Regions from separate parts of the Homo sapiens genome. Here region 1 is linked to region 2. The links are contacts of gene promoters, found by promoter capture Hi-C in blood cells and fetal thymus (Javierre and others, 2016). All regions are on one chromosome and are shown on one strand. Each heading gives the region's core, a stretch centred on a gene start or on the middle of the fragment in contact. The rest is flanking DNA. Distances are from core to core; before and after follow the strand shown.

Region 1 (5,747 bases), core at 2,298-4,797, 680 kb before region 2:
TAGAATCAATGAAATATTTTATTAGCAAATTCAATCATAAAGTCTTGTCTTTCTCTTTCATCCCCTCACAACCAACGAGTCACCAAGTCCTACTGCTTTTACTCCTTTCCACTCTCTACAATTACCTTTTTAATGGACTGCATTGTGGTAATAGCTTCCTAACTTTATATCTTACTTTTCATCTGTTTCCTTATTCTCCCCCTCTGCCCTCCCAATTCAATCTATACTCTGCTGTCACAATTATCTTTCTGGAACACAGATCTAATCATAACCTACCCTGCTTTTTAAAAGGTTTAATAACTTTTAAAAATCAGTAAATCCCCACCATCACATTCTTTAGCATGGCATACAATGCCTTTTTCCCATCTTGTCCAAAATCATATTATGTGGCTTAATATCCCACTATTTAGCCATAACTGCTGTGTGCCTGCTCGTGAAGGAACTACTCTGCCTCCACAGCTTTGGCCTATACAATATCCCTTCTGCCTGAAATCCCCCTCTTCTTTCCTCACAGCTCCCCTATCCTTACTGGTCCTTGTCCTCCTGGAGCACGCCTATTCATCCATCAAGATACAGCTCAAATACTGCTTCCTCAACGAGTCCTGCCTTCTTCCCCCATTCTATGGTTCCAGAGAATTACAGAATGAGCTCCTTAAGAGTACTAACTGTATCATATTCACATTTCTTTCCCTTTCCATTAATAGATTATTTGATAAACTGATAGTCAATATATATCTTCAATAAATATACATTCAAATTTTTTTAATTTAAAATTTAAAATAAATAAACAGTACTTTTTATGACCAAATTAACGAGTGAATAAATGAATACAAACACTTTTTTAATGTGGCTATAAGGCAATCGAACATTTTTAATCTATATCTTTTATTTGACAGAATGATAGAATCCCCAAAATTTCAATGAACTTTACTGGTATCCCTTGTTCTAAGCAGATACCCTCTAGGGTCAAATTTAATGTTACTATAGTTTGAATGTCTGTCCCCTCCAAAACTCACATTGAAATGTAATTGCCATTTTGACAGTATTAAGAGATGAGACCTTTAAGCAGTGATCAGGGCATGAGGGCCCTCATGGCTGGGACTACTGCCATTATACAAAGGGGAATTAGGTCCCCTCTTGTCTCTCTGTTGCACTCTCTTTGCCCTTCTTCCTTCCACCATGAAATTATGCAGCAGAAAAGCCCTCACCAGATGTCAGTAGCTCAATACTGGACTTCTCATTCTCCAGAACTGTGAGCCAATAAGTTTCTGTTAATATATACTATGCAGTCTGTGGTATTCTGTCATAGCAGCACATAATAGAGTAAGACAAATGTATTGAGCTCCATTTTCCCAAGGAAACCAATGGAAGAAAAAAACTCAAAGTTTTAACCTAGGAGGGTCTGATCTATCTGTCTTGCTACCTGTATGAAATTAAAGGTGAACCAGCAAGCCCTCTACAGTACTCTTGGTATTGACCCATCCATAAGAGGAGGAGAATACGACCATCTTCTAACTGCAAACCAGCCAGGATGTGGCAGCAGCAAGGAAAGAAAACCACCTTTTAGTAAGCCCTCATTACATGCCAGGCACTGTGTAGGCATTTCCTCATTGTAATCTCCTTTAATCTTTACAACAGCACCATGACGTATTTCCTTTATTTCTGAAAATAACTAAACTGTGTCTCAGAGGCTAAATAACTTCTCTACGTCAAACTACACTGTGGAAAATGAATTCAATACCAGATCAACTTGACTACAAACCCTATGCTCTGTTATCTCCTACCATGGCTAAGACCACAGTGCAAAACCCAGGAGCCCCTGGCCCTCAGAATTTAAAAGCAAATTCTTCTCTGAGGTTTTCTTAAGTTTAAATCATTAAGTTTAAATTGTTAGATAACTTCCATCCAGGTTATCTTTCCTACCTTAACAATAACACAGATCCAAATAATTCCCCATATATTCACTCACTCAGAAAATACTGACTACTATGACCTGAGGAACTATGCTAGATACTTTTAGTTACAGCTAAACCAAACCCCACTTACAGTTTTCCGTTTAACACTTAACACATTGTTTTGCAAGACAAACAAACAGACTTTAGAACCCATGTTTTTCTACCTGGGGAAGGCTGAACTAACAAAAATAAGCAGATAAAACATTATGATAAATAAGTAAATGGCAACCAACAAAAATAACCAATAAAGAACAAGAATTAAGAAGGAGGCTATAAATATAGAAATAATTAGAATGCAGATTTTTAATTATTTAGGAACCTTGAAAACTATGCTTTTTTTTTTCCTTCACTTTTACATCTACGAGAAATATTGTCGTTTGACAATGTATAGAGAGCATCTACGTTCTACAGTATATTCTACTGGGTAACTTTGAGATACTGATTCAAAAGCATCAGAAGACATCATTTCTTGCCCTAAAAGAAATTATTAAAATATATAAAAATAACATTAAAACAACTGGTATAGGCTTTTATGCAGCCAAAAATATATATCACTGTAGTCTATGGCGAATTTATAAAAGCCAACAGGGTATTCAAAAGGGACAAAATATAGTACTGGGTTAGAAAATAAGACATTCAAAAAACGTATTAAGCTTAGTTATTAATAAGCTCTCACTTTCTAAATTCTTTAAAATTCACAATATATTAATTCTCCTACTTGACATTTTCCAATGCTACTTCTGAAAATTCTTTTAAAATTAAATTTATTAAAAATACTATTGAGAAGGATAATACTCATATGTACATTTATGAAAACAATGCTTTTATTTTAATGTAGCATCACCTAAGATTAATTATTAAATTTTCTTCAAATAACTGATTACTTTGCAACAAATTAAAAGTATTAGAAGTTTGAAGGAAGGACAGACAGATATGTATGTTTAACATCTAAACACATTTAAAATATCACATTAAAAATCAGAAAAATTAATCTGAAACAACTATATTATACTAAATACTACTCAAAAGCTGGCTATGAAAAGAGACACATATTCAGATCACAGAGAAAATATTCAAAATAACTACTCCATGGTGATTTCTTATGTTAAACTTCTGGTTTTCTGAATGTATAAAATTGTAATTTTTATTTTATAATTATAAAACTATAAGATTATAAAATTCCATGATAAAATACAACAAAGATTTATACTATGAAGATGAAATGTCCCTAAAAGAAAATGTGATAAGTTTACACCGTTTCCTTTGTTATTTTTTCCTCTACCTTACTCACTGCACATTTAAATAGAAAGAAAGAAGATCAATTTGAATGCATTTACCTCACCAAACGGAGTGTAAAACTGCACAATGTTCACATCTTTGTCCTGCATGGCTGCCTTCTGGAAGCCTGCCACAGCTAACACGCTGCCCATGTGGTTCCACTGGATGCCTACTACGTACATGCCAGTGTCAATCAAAACGGGATCTAGTCAGAAAGAGAAAAATGAGGTCACTGTGGGAAAATACGTAGCCTAGAGAACTTTATAATCTTAAGAACAACTTTTAAACATTTTTAAAACTTTCCACATTTTTAAAAAAACAGGGCTGGGTACAACGGCTCACGCCTATAATCCCAACACTTTAGGAGGCTGAGGCGGGCGGATCACTTGAGTCCAGGAGTTCAAGATCGGCCTGGGCAACATGGTGAAACCCTGTCTCTACGAAAAATACAAAAATTAGCTGGAGGAGTTGGTGCACACCTGTGGTCCCAGCTCCTCAGGAGGCTGAGACCTTGAGCCTGGGAGGCCAAGGCTGCAGTGAGCCAAGAACGCACCACTGCACTCCAGCCTCGGCAACAGAGCAAGACCCTGTCGCAAAAAAAAAAAAGTTAAAAATTAGAAATTGAGGCCGGGCACAGTGGCTCACGCCTGTAATCCCAGCACTTTGGGAGGCTGAGGCAGGTGGATCACGAGGTCAGGAGATAGAGACTATCCTGGCTAACAGGGTGAAACCCCGTCTCTACGAAAAATATAAAAAATTAGCCAGGCATAGTGGCACGCCCTGTAGTCCCAGCTACTCGGGAGGCTGAGGCAGGAAATTCGCTTGAACCCGGGAGGCAGAAGTTGCCGTGAGCCAAGATCGTGCCACTGCACTCCAGCCTGGGCGACAGAGTGAGACTCCATCTCAAAAAGAAAAAAAAAAAAATAGAAATTAAAAAAATTTTTTAAACAGAAAAATTCCTTACTTTGGTCATTCTCATGTCTCATTATTTGGCATCTTCCATTATCAAAGCAAACAGCAAGGCAAGGGCAATCAGGCTCCACGTAGCCTTCTGTGCCATGGTACCAATGAATTCCAGCAATGCTGATAGCTCCAGTGACATTCACCAAACAACTCAGTTTCATTTTTATCTAAATAAAATTGGTTAGGTTTAATATTTTACATTTTAAAACACAGCAGTATAGAGACAATACTCAATAGAGTATTGTAGAAAGAACACTGAAAAATACAGTCTAAAAATCAGGTGGCAAATTAAAGCTTAATCACTTACTGGTATACAGGCCATGGACAAATCACCTAAATGTCCATTTTCCCCACATGTAAAAAATGAGGATTAAAAAACACTGAGTTTTTATGAGACTCAAACAACAAGTATATAAAAGTACTTTGAAAACAGCAAAATGACATAAAAGTTCATTATTTTACTTCCACCAGTGAGTGGATTTACTTAATGTCCTAACCCTTGCTAAAAAACAAAACTGCCCCACCAGTAATCATACATCTATGATAGCTAAACCTTGCAAAGCCAGAATTTTTCTCCAGATTATGCTGCCTGATCCTATTCTATTTTACCTTCTTTCCAGGGATTGATTTTTCTCACTTACCATTTAAGTCTGTCATTCTTTTTACAAACAACCATTGGTAGCTTGCTACAAAAATACCCTGTGGTATCTACATGTAAACTTTGGCTTCAGACACCAGAAGACACCTATAAAACTTAAACTGCACATCGCCCTACTCATTATCTCTCTGCTTAAATGCACTGACACCTCGTCCTTTCTACCTACCAAAAAAAATTGGAACTAAAAGCTACACTCGAACTTGTTGCACTAATTTGCCTTGAGAAAACCAAAATTTTATTTAATTAAAACAAAATTTAGACGATTGGGAAAAAGAAAAAAAATCTGAATTGAAGACTTTAATTACACAAACCGCCATAAAAAATAAATGTATATACAAACATGAATGATATGTACGATAATCATATAAAATTGTATAAACAAGACTGATGCATACACTTACTTACCATAAAATTTCCTTGATTATCGTAAATGTGTATTTCCCCATTTGCCATTCCAAAAAGTAAGACTTTACTGTCCGCAGACCATGTTACATGGGATAGCTGTATACCCTTCAGGTCTTTTCCCCAAATACGATTGCCTAAAACAAAACATTATTAAAAGTTGTTCAAGGTCATGATCCTCCAACAACGGCTTTCGAAATCTTTGTTTTTCTAAAGATCTCACAAATTCTTCACAGCATTCATGCATTCATTCAATTTATTTGGCCAATAAATATTTACTGAGCACCTATATGTGCCTGAAAAGACATCTGAAATAGCAGCTGTTTCAACCTTTCTCCCCTTTCTTCTAAACTCTGATGCTGGATCTCACTCCCAATTAGCAGTTGAGCCCATCTTCTATTTTGGAAAGAAAATAAAAGCACCCAAAAAACAAATTCCTCATTCCCATCTTCAACAATTCAGAACATAACTGAGTCCATGCTTACACTTTC
Region 2 (6,341 bases), core at 3,542-6,041:
GAGGTGAGACCTCCTGTGTGCTGGGCAGGACCCTGAAAACACGGGAGGAGCTTCTGGAGCTTAACCTGTGTCTGGGGCAAGGCCCTTCCCTCTCTGGAATTATACCCCAATCCATCAAATCCCCCTGCCCCAGCACTCCTCCCACACGGACCCCTCACATCCCACGCTAGGCCACGCTGTCACCAGCACAACGCTGCTGTCACCAACTGGTGAGGCCTACAGTGATGCGTCTCCTATGCCATGTATGACACCCAATGACTGAGTGCTGTACACACAAGGAATATCCTCCCGCGGCGTAGGGCACCCCAGGCAACCTGCCTTCAGGTGGTGAAAAGTGCAGCAAGGGCCGAATGGGCACTGGGAGGTGCACACGCACAGCCAGCCCTCTGCCAACGGCACCGAGTTCACGCAGTGTGCACGCGCGGCCTGGTGTCACCCACGGTGTCACTGCCACCAGTGTGGAGGAGGAAGGTGAGGCTGGATGCTGAGGGGAGACGCGCTGGGCTCTAGGGATGCACCTGTGTGAAGTCACTTCCGCCTCCTGCAACCCTGCGAAGGAGCTCTGCTACCCAGACCCACTTAAAATACAGGGAAACAGACCCCTAAAGGGAAAGTGCCTGCCCAGGTCTCACCCGGCATGAGGTGGAGCTGCGTTCAATCCCAGGCAGCTGCTCCAGAGCCCAGGTGGCCTCTTATGGGGCAGGCATGAGAAAGAAGCCAGGCATCATTTCTTTAGGATCATGATGAAAACGAGGCACAGGGGGGTGAAAGTGACAAGAAGGGCAGTGCCTGAGCTGCGGGGAGGTCCTCTCAGGGGTGGGAAAGGGATGGAGCAGACCCAGATGGGCACCTCCCACGATCCAGCTCCCTCACAGCACCCCACATCCAATGGTTCTCTGACCACGCCAGAACCCACAATCCATAACCCCACCCCTTTTCCAGGGTCCCATTCCATTGCTGGAATCCCTCTGCCTTAGGCCCAGCTCCCCTGACTTCTTACCCAGAGCTGAGCTGGCCTGGTCAAAGCCCACTTCTCCAGTTCTCTGCTTCCTTCACCCTGTGCCCAAGTGGCTCAACGTGACTGGGGACAGACATGGTGTAAACATGCAGCCTGGTCCCATTGAAATTCATGGCTGCAGACTTGAAGGCACAGCACCACACCAGGCTTGGCAACCCTACCTTGCCCTAGATGTGGGGTTCTCAAAGTGTGGTCCCTGGATCAGGATCAGCATCGCCTGGGAACTTGTAAGAAAGGCATGTTCGGGCCTAGGGTGGCCAGCCATCTTGTTTTCTTAGTAAGCCCTCCGACGAGTCTGATGCACCTGGGCCTACTCCATCACCCTCCCACTTCCCTGAACCCATAGGAAAACTTTCTCTACAGGGTCAGATAGCAAATATTTCAGGCTGTGTAGGGTATCTGGTCTCTGCTGCAGCTGCTACGGAGAGTACATAAACAAATGGGGGTGTGGTGGGCAGGATGTGCCCTAGACCAAGCTTCTCCAACTGTAATGTGCGTGCAACCCCCTGGGGATCCTGTTAATATGCAGATTCTGGTTCTGCAGGCCCCGGGGTGTGCCCTCACCATCTCTAGCAAATTCCCAAGTGATGTGGACACTGCTGTGTACTGCTCCAGAGACCATCGGAGAACATCCTAGGCTTCGCTGTCACATCTGCCCATCAGCCTGCAGCTGCTCCCTGATAGCTGCCCTCTCCTGGGACTGTAGACAAACTGGCTGGCTGCTCCTAAGGCCAACCTTCTACCAGGGCAGCGGCTCCGAGGCCCTCCCACCTACTGAAGGACATAGCTGCTGCAGCTCACCCCTCTTTTTCGCACCATCGATTTTCCTTCCTTACTGGCCCACGCTTATTAGCATGCAACCATGCTCTGACCACTCATGTAACAAAAGCTGTGCTTTGACCCGACATTCCCCTTGCTCCGTTTCCCTCCTGCCCTTTCCAGCAGAACTCCTCAACAGAGGGCCCCATATTCATGGGTTCCTCTCCTCCTGTTTGATCTTGAACCCTTTCCAGCCAGACTTTGGTCCTCATCATGCAACAAACTGCCCACGCCCAGGTCATCTGCGACCTCCATGTGGTTAAATCCAAAGGTGAATCCTCATTTCTCCTCTGGTCTGACTTGTCAGCAGCAGTGGGCACAGTCAGCCACTCCCCTCCTTCAAGCTCTGCCTTCACTGGTGGCTGGAGCACCCCCTCACTCTTGGTTCTTCTCTGCCCACCCTGGCCACTCTTGCTCAAACAGGAGGAGAGGAACTGCTTTGGATGGTTCCCCTTGATAGCATCCAGAGCACCCTCCTTCTTCCTCTCACTGTACCCCTCCCCAGGTGATCTCATCCAGGCTCCAGGCTTTAAATACCATTTCCGAGCCAATGGCTCCCCAACTCCCATCTTTAGCTCACTCTCCCCTCACAGCCAGCCTCCTTCCAGCTGCAGCTGCCTGACATCCCCACTGGGCTGTCAACGAGCTTCTCAAAACTCACCTGTCTACACAAATGCTGCTTCTACCTCTCCCCAAGCCTGCTAAAGGGCAGCCTCATTCTTCCAGCAGCTTAGGCTGAGAGACTTGCCGTTAGTCTTAACTTCTCTTCTTGTTCTCACACCCCATATCCAAGCATCAGCAAACCTGAAAGCTCAATCTTCAAAATATATCGAGAACCCAAACATTTCTCACCCTCACGGCCGCCATCACCCCGGGCCAAGCCACCACCGGCTCTACATGGAAACCTACAAGCCTGTCCTGAATGCTCAGCTCGGCCACTGCCCATGCTCAGCATAGCAGCCAAAGGATCTCTATAAACCAGAAGTTGGGCCCTATTGCACTTGAAATTAAATCTGATGGCCCCTCCACAGCCTTCTCGGCCTTTCCTGATCATCCTTCACTCCCAAGCTTGCCTCTTCACCGCATCACCTAACACTCTCCCTGGGCTCACTCCACTCCAGCATACCAGCCTCGGGACCCTGGCTCCTGCTGTCCTGTCCTCCCAGTACACACTTTTCCAAGATTTCTTTTTCATGGCTCTCTCCCTCATGGAGCTTGTCCGGGATCTGTCCAGGCGCCACTCCATCAGAAAGATGCCTCTTTACCACACCATAGAAAACAGCATGCATGCCTCCTACCACTCTGTTGCCCCCACTGTTTTGTTTTCCTTCATAGCATGTATCATCCCTGACATGTCGTAGATTTGCCCACTGGGCCTGTGCCCTCATTAAAGCTCTACGAGAGGGACTTGTTTGTCTCCTAGAACTAGGGCCAGTACCCGGTACAGAGAAGGCTCTCGATAAACACCTTCTGGCTGAATTCAAGCTTGAGTGCATGTGGCAATGACATGTGGGAGGAGATCGGGCTGGAAAGAGGAGCTGGGGTGCGACTGGGAAGGGCCGGCCTTGCTGCTGGGCTAAGGCGTTTGGACTCACCCTGCAGGCAAGATCCTTGGGTGTGCTGGTGCCCTCAGCAAGAAATGAGCCTGACTCATGTGGCCTTACCACCGCCAGCGCCCCCACATCTGTTAACAAGCCACGTCCAGGCTGTGCAGCGGGGCAGGGAGGGAAGCCACCCACCCCATCCCAAGCACCCAGCACCAAAGTCACACCCCATCCATCTGCACATGGCTGAGGGGCATATACTACTGACGTTGCTCATGCCTGCCAATCTGAAACCTCCAATTCACAGAAAAGGAAACTGAGGCTTGGTGAGAGGAGGTGACGTAAGTGGCAGTAGGGAAACCTCTTCTGCCCATGAAGATACAACTGTAACCACACTTGATCATGAAAGACCAAGCAGCCTCCGACATCAGGGTTTACAAAAGGAATCATACCTTTCTAGACCTGAAGTCACGGGGAATTCCTGATTACAACTGGAAGATCAACAGTTGGCTGGGTAACACGTTCATTTATGTCATAAATTGGCATCTTAGCCTAAGACTTTGTGTAGGGAGAGCAAGGGTGAAGTGTATGAAAATATTTGAAGTAAATCACTTTACAGCGTTTTAAAGGCGGAAAGAAGTAAAAGCACGTGCCTCCCAGCCTTGCCAGGATCCACCTTGGGCTGGGTCCTCCAGGTCTCGATCAGGGCCGACCCATTCTGCATCCTCCGCCTGGACCCCTCCAAGGCTTTTGCTGTAACTTGCGCTCTCCTGAGCTGCCTCGCAAGCAGCAACGACCTCTCCCTGGTCTCTCATCAAACTCATCCTCCCAGAAACCGGGTTCCTGCCCTGTACTGTGTTCCCATGGCAACCTGAGCTTACTACCCGCTGCTGGCATCACCCCCTCTCCGCTGCAGCCCCCTGCAGGGCGAGCTTGTCTGATTCGCCTCTGTCCCCAGTGCCCAGCACCGGGCCTGGGACTCAGGGAGCTCTGAAAGGATGGGGAACTAGATTTTCGGGCTCAAAAGAGAAGAACCCAAGGCGGTAGGAAAGGAGAGCAGAGTCCCCACTGCGCCCGCCTGCACTGAACCAGTCAGTCCCAGGGCTCCCGCTGTCCTTGGCTAGTTCTCTACCCTCCAGAGGGCCTCGGTTTCCTCATCTGTAAATCGGGGTCGCCACCTCTCCTGCAGGGCGGTGCAGGGGCCCAGCCCGGATAAGCCACCGAGGGCGCTGGGGAGACCTGCACCAGGTCCCTGGCCTAGGAGGCGGCGGCCTCCCCCCGCCTCTCCGCCCGGGCGCCCCGGACTGCGAGCTGTGCGGTGTGGGGCGCGGGGGTCTGGCTCACCTGGAGGTGACGAGCACCGCCGGGGACTGCATGACGGCGGCGGGGACTCCGGGCGGGGCGCGCAGTCACGGGACCCGGCAGTGCCCGCGTCACCGCGTCCCCGCCCTGCCTCCCGCTGCCCTGGCCTGCCCCCTGGTGGCAGCGGCCGCGCAGTTCGCGCCTGTGGCCAGAGGCGGGGCGGAAGCGCGGCTGGGCGGGTCCCGCACGGTCGCCGTCGGCCTGCGCTGCTCGGAGCTTCCGGAGCACCCAGGCTGAGCCGCGCCCGCCGCAACCACCTAGAAGAAGCCCAGCCTGGCCCTGGCACACGGTGAACCTTAATCGGTGTGTCTGTTTTGCGCTAAAGTTTAGCCGTTAGAGAGACGGGACTCTGCTGTTTCCGCCGCCAGTCCCCATTACAAAACCACTCCCCCTCTGCCCCAAGACCATTTCATTCAACCGATCGGTCAACAAATATTTACCAAGCTGGGGCTCTGTCCAGGCTTCGTGGGGTCTTCTTCAAGCTGCACAGTGAACGCCACGCAGCAGCCCAGTCCCCTTGAGCTTGCTGCCTCCAGCTAGCTCGCCTATCTGGTTCCTACTGCCTGCCCGCTCCATAAATGGCAGGCACTCTCCCGACAGGGGATCTTTAGAGAGGCAGCCTCTGCTGCTTGGCAGAGCCCTGGTGGAGGCCTCCCGGGGCCGGGCCTGCCTGGGATGGCTGCACTTGGGTCCCCAGCTGGAGCAGGGCAACGGGGTCCAGGAGCCAGTTCCCCTCAGAAGGGGAACGTACAGACATGCAGACCCTAACAGACCCACTCATTTTAGATTCACCTCTCCATGGGGTGAGGAACAGAGAGATCGTATCACCTGCCAACGTAGCCCAGGGAAAGAAAAGCTGAGTCTGCAAACAGGGCCAGCAGAAGGTGCAAACTGCTGCCCCTGTTCTGTTACTCCCTCCACCCAGAGCCCCAGTGACAAAAAGAAAGAGAAGCTGGGCTTAACTATACCAGAATTCACGGCAGGGCGATGTCAGCCATGTTTCCTGAGCCTATCAACCACCGCCACCAGCATCACCAACAATATCTACCAGTTTTTACAGATTTTAGTGAAGAAATCCTACAGTAAAAGATTTTGAAAAATGACTTTCCCCAATGTATCTCTTGAATAAATACGGACATTGATATGCCTTATTATTTGTCTCAGATTTGTTTATAGGCAAGATGAGCAATCATGAATGAAGTATGACAATGAATGAAAGTTCTGAGGGAGACCCTTGAAGGCTGCAGTGAAGAGCTGGGATGATGGCGGGAACCCCTGTCTGCTCTGCTGCTCATCGGCCTGTCCGTCTGCAGGGCCGTGTTCATGGCTGCAAATGGTCCTCCGTGTTTTGTTTAAATTGGCATGCCCTACTTTAGAGAAAGGGAGTTCAGGGTCTGGACAGAAAGCAGTATAGGCTTCAGCATTCCAGGAGTCTGAGTGTAGTGCCAGGCAGTCGAGCAGTCACCATTGCACTCACATTTATCCAACAGACAGAAACACAGTGAATAAGACACTTTAGATGCCTTCAGTGGACTTCTTTGCCCTCCTACATGGGGAGTGGGTGGGGGTCTGGAAAGGCTTTCTAAAGGAGCTGAAGT

What was found. Contacts are between HindIII fragments. The CHiCAGO score rates a contact against its expected background, and 5 or more counts as called.
Region 1: a fragment that was not itself captured here is called in contact with the fragment with the promoter of HS1BP3 in region 2 in 2 of 17 cell types (neutrophils and total CD8 T cells); the score reaches 6.1 in neutrophils.

Annotation. Positions count from the first base shown.
Region 1 is chr2:19,970,271-19,976,017 of GRCh38, forward strand. It overlaps WDR35 (WD repeat domain 35), which reads right to left. Exons shown (of 27, transcript NM_020779.4): 6 at 5,260-5,393; 7 at 4,198-4,363; 8 at 3,293-3,438. Among named protein-coding and RNA genes, the nearest start is that of WDR35, 17 kb to the right of the region's middle. The HindIII fragment of the contact is 1,882 bases long and covers 2,607-4,488 here.
Region 2 is chr2:20,646,307-20,652,647 of GRCh38, forward strand. It overlaps HS1BP3 (HCLS1 binding protein 3), which reads right to left and starts at 4,792. Exons shown (of 7, transcript NM_022460.4): 1 at 4,726-4,792. The coding sequence starts at 4,757. LOC105373466 (a long non-coding RNA gene) reads left to right here and starts at 4,976. Exons shown (of 2, transcript XR_001739320.2): 1 at 4,976-5,046; 2 at 5,669-5,894. RefSeq lists enhancers at 4,139-4,218, 4,239-4,388, 4,473-5,210 and a silencer at 4,469-5,058. The HindIII fragment of the contact is 7,312 bases long and covers 3,321-6,341 here.